Linked DNA regions of Homo sapiens: region 1 is linked to region 2. The links are contacts of gene promoters, found by promoter capture Hi-C in blood cells and fetal thymus (Javierre and others, 2016). All regions are on one chromosome and are shown on one strand. The core of a region is centred on a gene start or on the middle of the fragment in contact, and the rest is flanking DNA. Distances in the headings are between cores, read along the strand shown. Region 1 overlaps OSBPL1A (oxysterol binding protein like 1A). Region 2 holds the start of HRH4 (histamine receptor H4).

Region 1 (4,806 bases), core at 1,957-4,456, 95 kb before region 2:
ATCACGTGCTTACGAAATAACCTTTAGGTATCATGTTGGACTATGGTCAACAACTAGAATATACAAGAAATACACTCTATGTCATAGTTAATTTTGCATATCATTTAAATAATCAAAAAAACATTAATATGGGGTAAAGCAACTTTTAGCTATGAAAGGATAAGACAACTGTTATCCTGAAAAAATGAGCATAAAGCTGGACAAAATTGTCAAAACTAACCATTTTGTGGTGCTGGATATCCATTAAAGAAACAAACTGAGAGGCAGTTACTCCAGAGGAATGGCAGGAACTTGGAGGAAGAACACTGGGAGTCTTTAGCTTTCTAGCCACAGGCTATTAGTCCTCCCCACCTCCCCAAACAAGTCTGACCAGGGCAGGCCTGGCAGTGAAACCCAGCAGTTTTGCTGCCAGAGGGAAATGACTTGATTTAAAACAAAAGGCAAAAACCCAGTAAAAGTAGCAAATACAGCAGAAAACAAATGAGAACACCTACATGCTTGCTAGCATGAGGCTGCTTTTTCTATTAGAGTGTCTAGCTTTCTACCGCTGCTATAACAAATGACCACAAACTCGGTGGCTTAAAACAACAGAAAGAAATGTGTTACCTCACAGTTCTGTATTTGAGAAGTCCAGAATAGGTCTTGTTGGGAAAAATCAAGGTGTTGCAAGGGCTCTAGGGGAGAATTCATTTCCTTGCTTTTCCCGTTGCTAGAGACTGTCCACCTTCCTTGGCTCACAGCCCCCTTTCCTGCAGTTTCTAAGGCAGAAACACCGTATCTCTCTGACGAATCTCTCATAAGCACATTTCCCTCTTATTACACTTCTTTCTTTTTCTTTTTTTCCTTTTTTTTTTTTTTTTTGAGATAGAATCTCGCTGTGTTGTCCAGGCTGGAATACAGTGGCACAATCTTGGCTCACTGCAACCTCTGCCTGCTGGGTTCAAGTGATTCTCCTGCCTCAGCCTCCCGAGTAGCTGGGATTACAGGAGTATGCCACCACATCCAGCTATTTCTTTTCTTTTCCCTTCCTTCCTTCCTTTCTATCTTTCTTTCTTTCTTATAGGGTCTCCCTGTGTCACCCAGGCTAGAGTGCAGTGGTGAAATCATGGCTCACTTCAGCCTCGACCTCCCCGGCTCAAGTGATCCTCCAACCTCAGCCTCCCGAGCAGTTGGGACTACAGATGCACACCACCACACCAGGCAATTTTTTTTTTTTAGAGATGGGATTCTCCCTATGTTGCCCAGGCTGGTCTCAAACTCCCGTGCTCAAGTGATCCTTCCACCTTGGCCTCCCAAAGTGCTGAGATTACAGGCGTGAGCCACTGTGTCCAGCCTCTCTTACACTTCTAAGGACACCTGTGATTACAATGGGCCCACCGAGATAATCCAAAATAATTTTCCTACCTTAAGGTTAGCTGATGAGCAATCTCAACTCCATCTGCAACTTTAACTTCCCCTTGCTGTGTAATCTAACATATTTACAAGTTTTGGGGGATTAGGATGTGGATGTCTTTGGAGGGCCATGATTCTGCCTACCACACAGGCAAATGGCAAAACAGCCTAAAACTTAATGAGACAACCCTGAAAACAAAAGAACTGGAGTAGGAGTAGGTGAGCTTCCCAGGTACCCCAGGCTGCTGGGAAACTCCACACATTTGCAGGAGAAAGGAGAGGGGGCCTTGCAAAAGTCAGAGCAGAGGAAGAAGCGAGAAATGCCTGGACTCTGAAAGCACTCTCCAGCCTACACATAGATCCAGGGCAGAGCACAGAAGCCTAAGGGGATTGAGTAATGGAGCCCACTGCTGCTCAAATACAGGCTCACCACTAGGCTACACAGATGCAGGCATGAATCCTAAAATACTATGCTGAAAGCCAGGCACAGTTGTGCATGCCTACAGTCCCAGCTACTCAAGAGGCTGAGGTAGGAAGATCACTTGAGCTCAGGAGTTCAAGTCCAGCCTAGGCAATATAGTGAGACTTGTCTCTAAAACAAACAAACAATTTTTTTTTAATTTTTTTTTTTTAACTCAGCAGATATATTAGCTGGCCAGACTCAGTCCAGATTCCACAGATTAAAGCCAGGCTGGTTAATACATTTAAGAAAAGGACTGCAAGATCTCTATGTTGAAAACTTCAGGCCAGGAATGGTGGCTCATGCCTGTAATCCCGACACTCTGAGAGACCGAGGTGGGTGGCCTAGGAGTTGGAGACCAGCCTGGGCAACATGGAGAAACCCCGTCTCTACTAAAAATACAAGAAATTAGCCAGGTATGGTGGCACACACCTGTAGTTCCAGCTTCTCAGGAGGCTGAGAGGGGAAGATCACCTGAGCCTGGGAGGCGGAGGCTGCAGTGAGCTGAGACTGTGCCACTGCCCTGCAGCCTGGGTGAAAGAGCGAGACCCTGTCTCAAAAAACAACAACAAAAAAAAAAAAAAAAAAAAAAATCCAGAAACATTTAAATTATGGTCAACTGATTTCCAGCAAAGGTATCTAGGCAATACAATGCAAAAAGATAGTCTTTTCAATAAAACTTGAACAGATAACAAAAGATGGTGTATCCATACAGTGGAATATTCAGCCATAAAAAAGACCAAACTACTGATACATGCTACAGCATGGATGAACCTCAACGACATTATGCTAAATTAAAGAAGCCAGACACAAAAGTTTGTATGATACTGTTTACAAGAAATGTTTAGGCCGAGTGCGGTGGCTCACGCTTGTAATCCTAGCATTTTGGGAGGCTGAGGTGGGTGGATCCTCTAAGGTCAGGAGTTCGAGACCAGCCTGGCCAACATGGTGAAACCCCATCTCTACTAAAAATCCAAAATTATCTGGGCATGGTGGCGGGTGCCTGTAATCCCAGCTACTTGGGAGGCTAAGGCAGGAGAATTGCTTGAACCCGGGAGACAGAAGTTGCAGTGAATCAATATCACACCACTGCACTCCAACCTGGGCGACAGAGCAAGACTCGGTCTCAAAAAAAAAAAAAAAGTTTAGGAAAGGCAAATATCTAATATCTAGAGAAAGGAAACAATTCAGTGGTACCCTGGGGCATGGGAAAGGGGAAGGGGATGAATATAAACAGGCATGAGGAAACTTCTGGGGTGACAGAAATGTTCTAAAACTGGATTTTGGTGATGTTGCACAATTTTGTAAATGTATAAAAATCACTAAAATGCACACTTACAATATGTGATCAAATTATGCTTTTCCTCTGCTCTCCTACTACAGCAAGTAACACTAAAGACTTCTGTGACCAAATATGGGTGGGGGCAGTTCTCCCCACCACCAAGCAAGCAATTAGTTCTGCAGCAAATACCAGCTATGTGTCCTTCAATTCAATTCCAACACTATCTACCCAGAGATAGCATTAATCCCACAGGTGAGGGCTCAGTCCCAGCACTTCTCCCCACCCCTCAGACACCAGCTGCAGGTCCAGACCTCCAGAGCTTCTGACTGATGGTCTTTAAATTAGGGTTCCCATGACTCCCTGTTTGGGTTCCATTAATTTGCTAGAGCAGCCCACAAAACTCAGGAAAACATGTTTACTGCTTTATTACAAAGGATACAGATGAAGAGATACATAGGGCAAGGCATGGAGGAAGGGCACAGAGCACCCATGCCCTCCCTGGGTGTGATCATTCAAGAACCTCCACGTGTTCAGCTACCCAGGAGCTCCTAGAACCCTGTCCTTTCAGGTTTTTATGGAGGTTCCATTAAATAGGCATGATTGATGAAACCACTGGCCATTAGCGAGCCATTTCCCCTTCAGCCCCTCTACCCTCCCTGGAGGTTGCAAAGTTCGGCTGAAAGTCCCAACCCCCTAGTCCTGCCTTGGTCTTTCTGGTGACCAGCCCCCATCCTGAAGCCACCTAGGGGTTGCCAGCCATCTTTTTGTACATCTTTAGTGTACAAGGTCAAAGACCAAATATATATTTCACAATATCACAGGTGAAGTTTATGCAATGTAAGTTATACCTCAATGAAGCTATTTTTTTTTTAAAAAAAAGAATAATCAGGAGTTCCCCATTGCTGGAGTACACAAGCAGAAACGGAATGATCTCCTCACAGGGATGCTACAGAGTGGGGGTCTCCATGACCTTAGTACTGGACCTCACTGTCAGACTCAAAGATCCTGTGGCCTTTTGACCCAAAGTGCTGGTGTATACATTTTTTTGTGTGGCTTTCTTCGGTTGCTGGTCAGATGGTTATAACAGAGAAAACAATGGTAACTACTCCTCCAAATACCTCACTTACAAACATTGAACATAGAATGATTTTCACCTTTCGTCCTGTAAAGGCAGCTCGATGAAGCGGCGTGTCTCCCATGTCATTCAACACATTCACTTCTGCACCAGCCTAGTAAACATGACCACTTTAAATACCAAGAAATATACAATGGTGAAAATCATTCCTTCAAAATATATTAAGGCCTTAAAAAATTAAAATTGTTAATATTGTTTAGGTGTCAGTACTAACAATAAATTAAATTTAAAGTAACAATAAAAAGCCAGCACGGTGGTTTGAGCCCATAGTCCCAGCTACTTGGGAGGCTGAGGCAGGAGAATCATCTGAGCCCAGGAGTTCAAGGCCAGTCTGGCACTATAGCGAGACTCCATCTTATATATATATATATATATGTACACATATAGTAGTGTATATATGGTAGGTTTTCTGAAAGGTAAAAATCTACCTGATAGGTAGAAAAATAAAAAGTAAAAAGGTACTTTTCACTAAAAATCTATACACCTTGGCCAGGCGCAGTGGCTCACACCTGTAATCCTAGCACTTTGGGAGGCTGA
Region 2 (4,950 bases), core at 31-2,530:
ATGTTATATAAATATTCTTGAGCTGTGTTCAGGGTTGCAATTAAGCTGCTTGGAAACAGTTTGATCCTTTCAGGTTTTGCTTTTAAGATTTGCTAGGAAGAACCCAAGAAATATTTAGTATAGGGCTAATTATTCCTGACTACTGAGGCAAGACCCTTCTGAATGTACTGCCCAACGTCCCATGAATTAGGAACTTTTTCCATTTGGCTAATGGGAGCAGGCACTATAACCAGCCCTCTGTGAGCATTGGGTACTATTGCCTCTAATATTTTCGAGTGGTTCTTTTTCTTGCCTAAAAACAGTTCCTCCACAAGTGCTAATCAGTACTCTGGTGAATACTTGAAGGGGGTCCTCTGCAGATCTCTGGAGTTCTGCTCAGTGTGGCTCTGCAGTTCAGAATCCTCTCTGGTACTCCTGTACTCTCAACTCCATTTCCTCATCCCAGGGAGTCTCCTGGGCTCTGCCTGGATTTCCCCTCTCTGCCCATGCCCTGGGAACTCTCAAGATAGTAAGGTGGGGCAACTGCAGACCTCATCCGTTCTCTCAGGGATCACCGTCCTTCCTTGTTAATGACAAGTGCCTTGAAAACCATTGTCTAGTTTTTTGGCTGTTTCAGATGGGATTGTGAAATTCAGCCCCTGTTACTCCATCATGGCCAGATGAGAATATTGAACTGAATCTACACGAGTTTTAAAAATGGCCTGGTGTGGTGGCTCATGCCTATAATCCCAGCATTTTGGGAGGCCGAGGTGGGTGGATCACTTTAGGTCATGAGCTCAAGACCAACCTGGTCAACATGGTGAAACCCCATCTCTACAAGAAATAACAAAAATTAGCTGGGCATGGTGATGAGTGCCTGGAATCCCAGCTACTTGGAAGGCTGAGGCAGGAGAATCGCCTGAACCTGGGAGACAGAGGTTGCAATGAGCCGAGCTCACATCAGTGGCCTCCAGCCTGGGCAACAGAGTAAGACTCCATCTCCAAACAACAACAACAACAACAACAACAACAACAACAACAACAACAATGAACCTTGTGTGAGCCCAATTTATTTCCTGTATAATGATTATATTTTATAGATATTACATGATTTTATTCTAATAATGGAGATGGATGCATCACAGTAAAATGTTTAAGGTAAAACATTTCACTGTTTTTTGGAAATACTTTCTCAGTGTCAGTTAAAGGGAAACTGTTACCACAAGCTTACTTTATCAAGAATCAGGAAGTACTATGAGATCAGCATTAGATTAAAACAGTGTTGTTTTGAGTGGAAGACTACACATTTTAGGTATGTGATTAGAAAACATACTTGTCAGAATTGTCTGGCTGGATTAATTTGCTAATTTGACCTTCTTCATCATTTGATGTGATGCCAGATACTAATAGCACAATCAATTTATCACTAAGCACTCGTGTTACTTTAGCATTTTTTATGTCCTTAGTAGCTTTTGCTATAATGCTAGGAAATGCTTTGGTCATTTTAGCTTTTGTGGTGGACAAAAACCTTAGACATCGAAGTAGTTATTTTTTTCTTAACTTGGCCATCTCTGACTTCTTTGTGGGTAAGTTATATGTCTTTATTTAAGACAGTCTTTTCCGATTTTAATTTATTTCTAAATCCTTAAAATAAGCTTTTGTTATTTCAGGGGACTGTATACAACTGGGGAAAAATAAACACAAAAAGTTTAAGTATTAAATTTTGGAGGGGGCTATATGGCACTGTAAGGGAATGTTATACATATGTAAATCAGTGTGGTAGGGGAATTTTCAGCTGAAAACAGTTTATTTTCTTTTTATAGAATAAAGATAAGTCCAGTATAGCTCCAAAATTTTAATGTAAGAGTTACTTGTTTCTGGTGCTATTTTCCTCATATGTTTAGGCTTATAAGTATTCCTCTTTAAGTAAATATGGTTTTGTTGGTATCACAATGTTGGAGTAATAAGAAATTATGTATATGCTAGTAACCAGTGCAATCAGAAAATAGCGTATTCAGATCAATTAAATAATATGATTAATAGTATTAATTTAATGATATGGCATAGAATTTTGTAAAATATACCCAACTGTAAACTGCCTTGCATATAATATGATATCATAGCATTATATCATCGTTAAGAGACCATAGAAATCAAACCAACTTTCTCTGAAAACACGCACTTTATAATTTTTCACTGCCTGATGCTTCTTATTTTTAAACAATGCTTATCATAATAAGTAGATGTACAGAAATGTCAGCTGATGATACTATTTTACAGGAGTTTCTAGTATAATTTAATCTGGCATATTCAGATTATTTTTGTCTATAACTACATAAAGCTTACATTTATGTTAAAGTGAAATAAACACACAAAATACTTAGTTCATTCCCTGGAATACAGTTGTTACTCAACAAATGTTAGTTCTCTTTTTTTTTTTTTTTTAATTTCTCTGCAGATATGGGTCAACCCCAATCTAGGTCACAAATGTTAGTATAGTATCTAGCCTGTATAATACTGCTAGGTATGCAAGCACTATTAGGTAATCAAGGGATCTATAGAAGATTAGGTTAGTCTCTTCCAGTAAGTTTTTGATGTAGAAGAGTGGACAAGAGATGTTCAGAAATGACTATAGCAGTATAGAGTAACACGAGACCCCACGAAGACCTAAGAAGTGCTATGGTCACTTGGAGGAGGGATAAAGCACGTTTAGTTAGCGAATAGAGGCATTTAACATGAACTTTGAAAGATGGATAGAATTTCCATAGTCAGAGATAGGGCGAAGGATTCTTTGCTCCAAGAATGAGCAAAGGCATGCTGGTAGAAAATCATTGTGCTTATCTTCCTAAGGGTGAGTGAGCTTGGAGCTGGCTGGTGTGCAGATAGGTGCAGGGGAGCCGTAGAGATGAAGATGAAATCTATAAAGTGAGGGCCTTTAAATACCAGCGTGAGTGTGGAGTGGAATTTATTCAGCAGGCCTTGTGGAGATTTAAAGATTTTAAAACAGGAGAGTGGTTGAACAGATCAAAGCTTTACTTTAGAGACATCGGAAGAGCCGTAGGAAATGGGGAAACTGGAGTGTGGGGCGGCATGCTTTCAGAGATGATCCTGCAGCAATCTAGGCAGAAATCATGCAGTTAGGACCTGAGCTAGGATGATTGGAAAGGAAGGCCAACAGGCAGAGCAGCTAAGGGTGTGGTTGGGCGGGAAAAGAGAAAGCTGAGTTAAAGATTGGGCTTCTGAGACTAAGAACGGTACGGTGCTCTTCAAAGAAACAGGAAGTATTTGGGCAGGACAGCTCTGGTTCTGATGTTGCACTGAAAGTTCTGGAGAAAAATTCTAGTTGGGGAGATTGATTTAGGAGTCATGGCATAGAAATGACACATAAAGGCAGCTAACCCATAAAGAAGTATTGAAAAAATGCACTGTCTCCACATTTGTTTCCTCAATTCTGTCCCTTCAGGTAACCAACATTTGCTGCTTGATGTAGATCCTTCCACATCATTCTCTGTGCTCCCATAAACATGTACAAATACACGAGTTTATTTATGTGAACATAGAGAAAGTTCCACTATAAATATATGTATCCTTTGCTTCTTCCTTCTTCACAGGATCTTGTGACTTTTAGATGACAGTCATCACTTAAAATAGATGATGTGCTTTTACTAACCCAAAGGGAGTGAGGCCCTGACTGCCCCAGTTTTAGGGTGGGAAGGGTGAGACAGCTGAGAGAGCCTGGGGCCTGAAGCTTTTGAATCAAGATGGTTCTAGGTAAAAATGTCTCCATGTCTGGCCCAAGACCAGCATCATGGCAGTCCCACCCTCAAGGGCTTGAGCTTGTCTTTGGAAAATGGCCCTGCAGATGTAGTTATTCAGCAGTCCTGGTGATCTCCTCCATCAGCAGGTGGGTGAAGATATAATTCTGATAATTTCTTTTGCTCCTGATTAAAGGAGTTGGGTGCAGGTCAGAGTCTCCTTTCATCTGCCTGCCAGCCTCATCCCTCACATCTCCCCTGCCTCCTGCCAGCTTCATCCAGAGGTCTGCATATTTAATGCAGGGCTCACCATGACACAGTCCCTGGGAGCTTTTTGTAACAGGATTCAAGTTTTCTGGCAGTGCTGTTCTTTCTCCTTTGCCATGCTGGGAAATGAACCTTTTGTCTCAGCCTGGAAGAAGGCGTGGACGTGGTGAGCATGCAGGGCAGAACTCGTGAGAGGTTTTCTGCAGCTGTTAGCCATTGATTCTTAACATTTGGGGTCATGAGATCCAGAGCTCCAGAGCCATGTGACCATGGCAGGGCAGATTAGACCCTCACATGTGCTTGGAACTGTGGCTTTGCTGGCTGAATGCCCTCTTCCCCCCAGGTTTCAGAACTGGCCCTCTGCGGAGAATCTAAATTTGTGGCACCCAAGTTGCTAATTTCTCAGGCTGAATTTACTGTTGAGAGCAAAGATTTATTGAGGAAAAATTCTAGTACTAGCTATACCGGACGTTATATAAATACACCTCATCTGTATACTATTTTGGGAAACATACTATCTATATCTACATCAATATCAATAAAAGTGTTACCATGTAACCAGTGTTTCCATTTGTGGGTACTTTCTTCTCATCCCCATGTTGTGTTGGCGTTTGTGGCCTACATGACCATGTGACAGATGGCTGGACAGGATCTTCAGGGGATAAAGGTGGTTGCTGCTATCAGAGCCTGAACCAAGTGTTCAGGATGGCAGAATTTATCTTGATACCTGTATGCCTGAGTTCAAGACTCTTTTCTGGCCTTCTGTATTTATCTGCTCAGGCTGCCATAACAAAATACCCTAGACTGGGTGGCTTAAACAACTGACATTTATTTTCTCACAGTTCTGGAGCTGGGGACATCCCAGATCAAGATTCTGGCCAATATTGGTTCCTGATGAGGGCTGTCTTTCTGGCTTGCAGACGGCTGCCGTCTACCTGCGTCCTCAAGA

The links. Contacts are between HindIII fragments. The CHiCAGO score rates a contact against its expected background, and 5 or more counts as called.
Region 1: a contact is called between a fragment that was not itself captured here and the fragment with the promoter of HRH4 in region 2, in 1 of 17 cell types (M2 macrophages). The highest score is 5.9, in M2 macrophages.

The regions. Positions count from the first base shown.
Region 1 is chr18:24,362,604-24,367,409 of GRCh38, forward strand. OSBPL1A (oxysterol binding protein like 1A) reads right to left here. Exons shown (of 28, transcript NM_080597.4): 4 at 4,289-4,363. All of the region lies in intron 2 of LOC124904268 (a long non-coding RNA gene), which reads left to right. Among named protein-coding and RNA genes, the nearest start is that of OSBPL1A, 33 kb to the right of the region's middle. The HindIII fragment of the contact is 6,429 bases long and covers 1-4,806 here.
Region 2 is chr18:24,459,357-24,464,306 of GRCh38, forward strand. HRH4 (histamine receptor H4) reads left to right here and starts at 1,281. Exons shown (of 3, transcript NM_021624.4): 1 at 1,281-1,565. The coding sequence starts at 1,373. The HindIII fragment of the contact is 429 bases long and covers 1,204-1,632 here.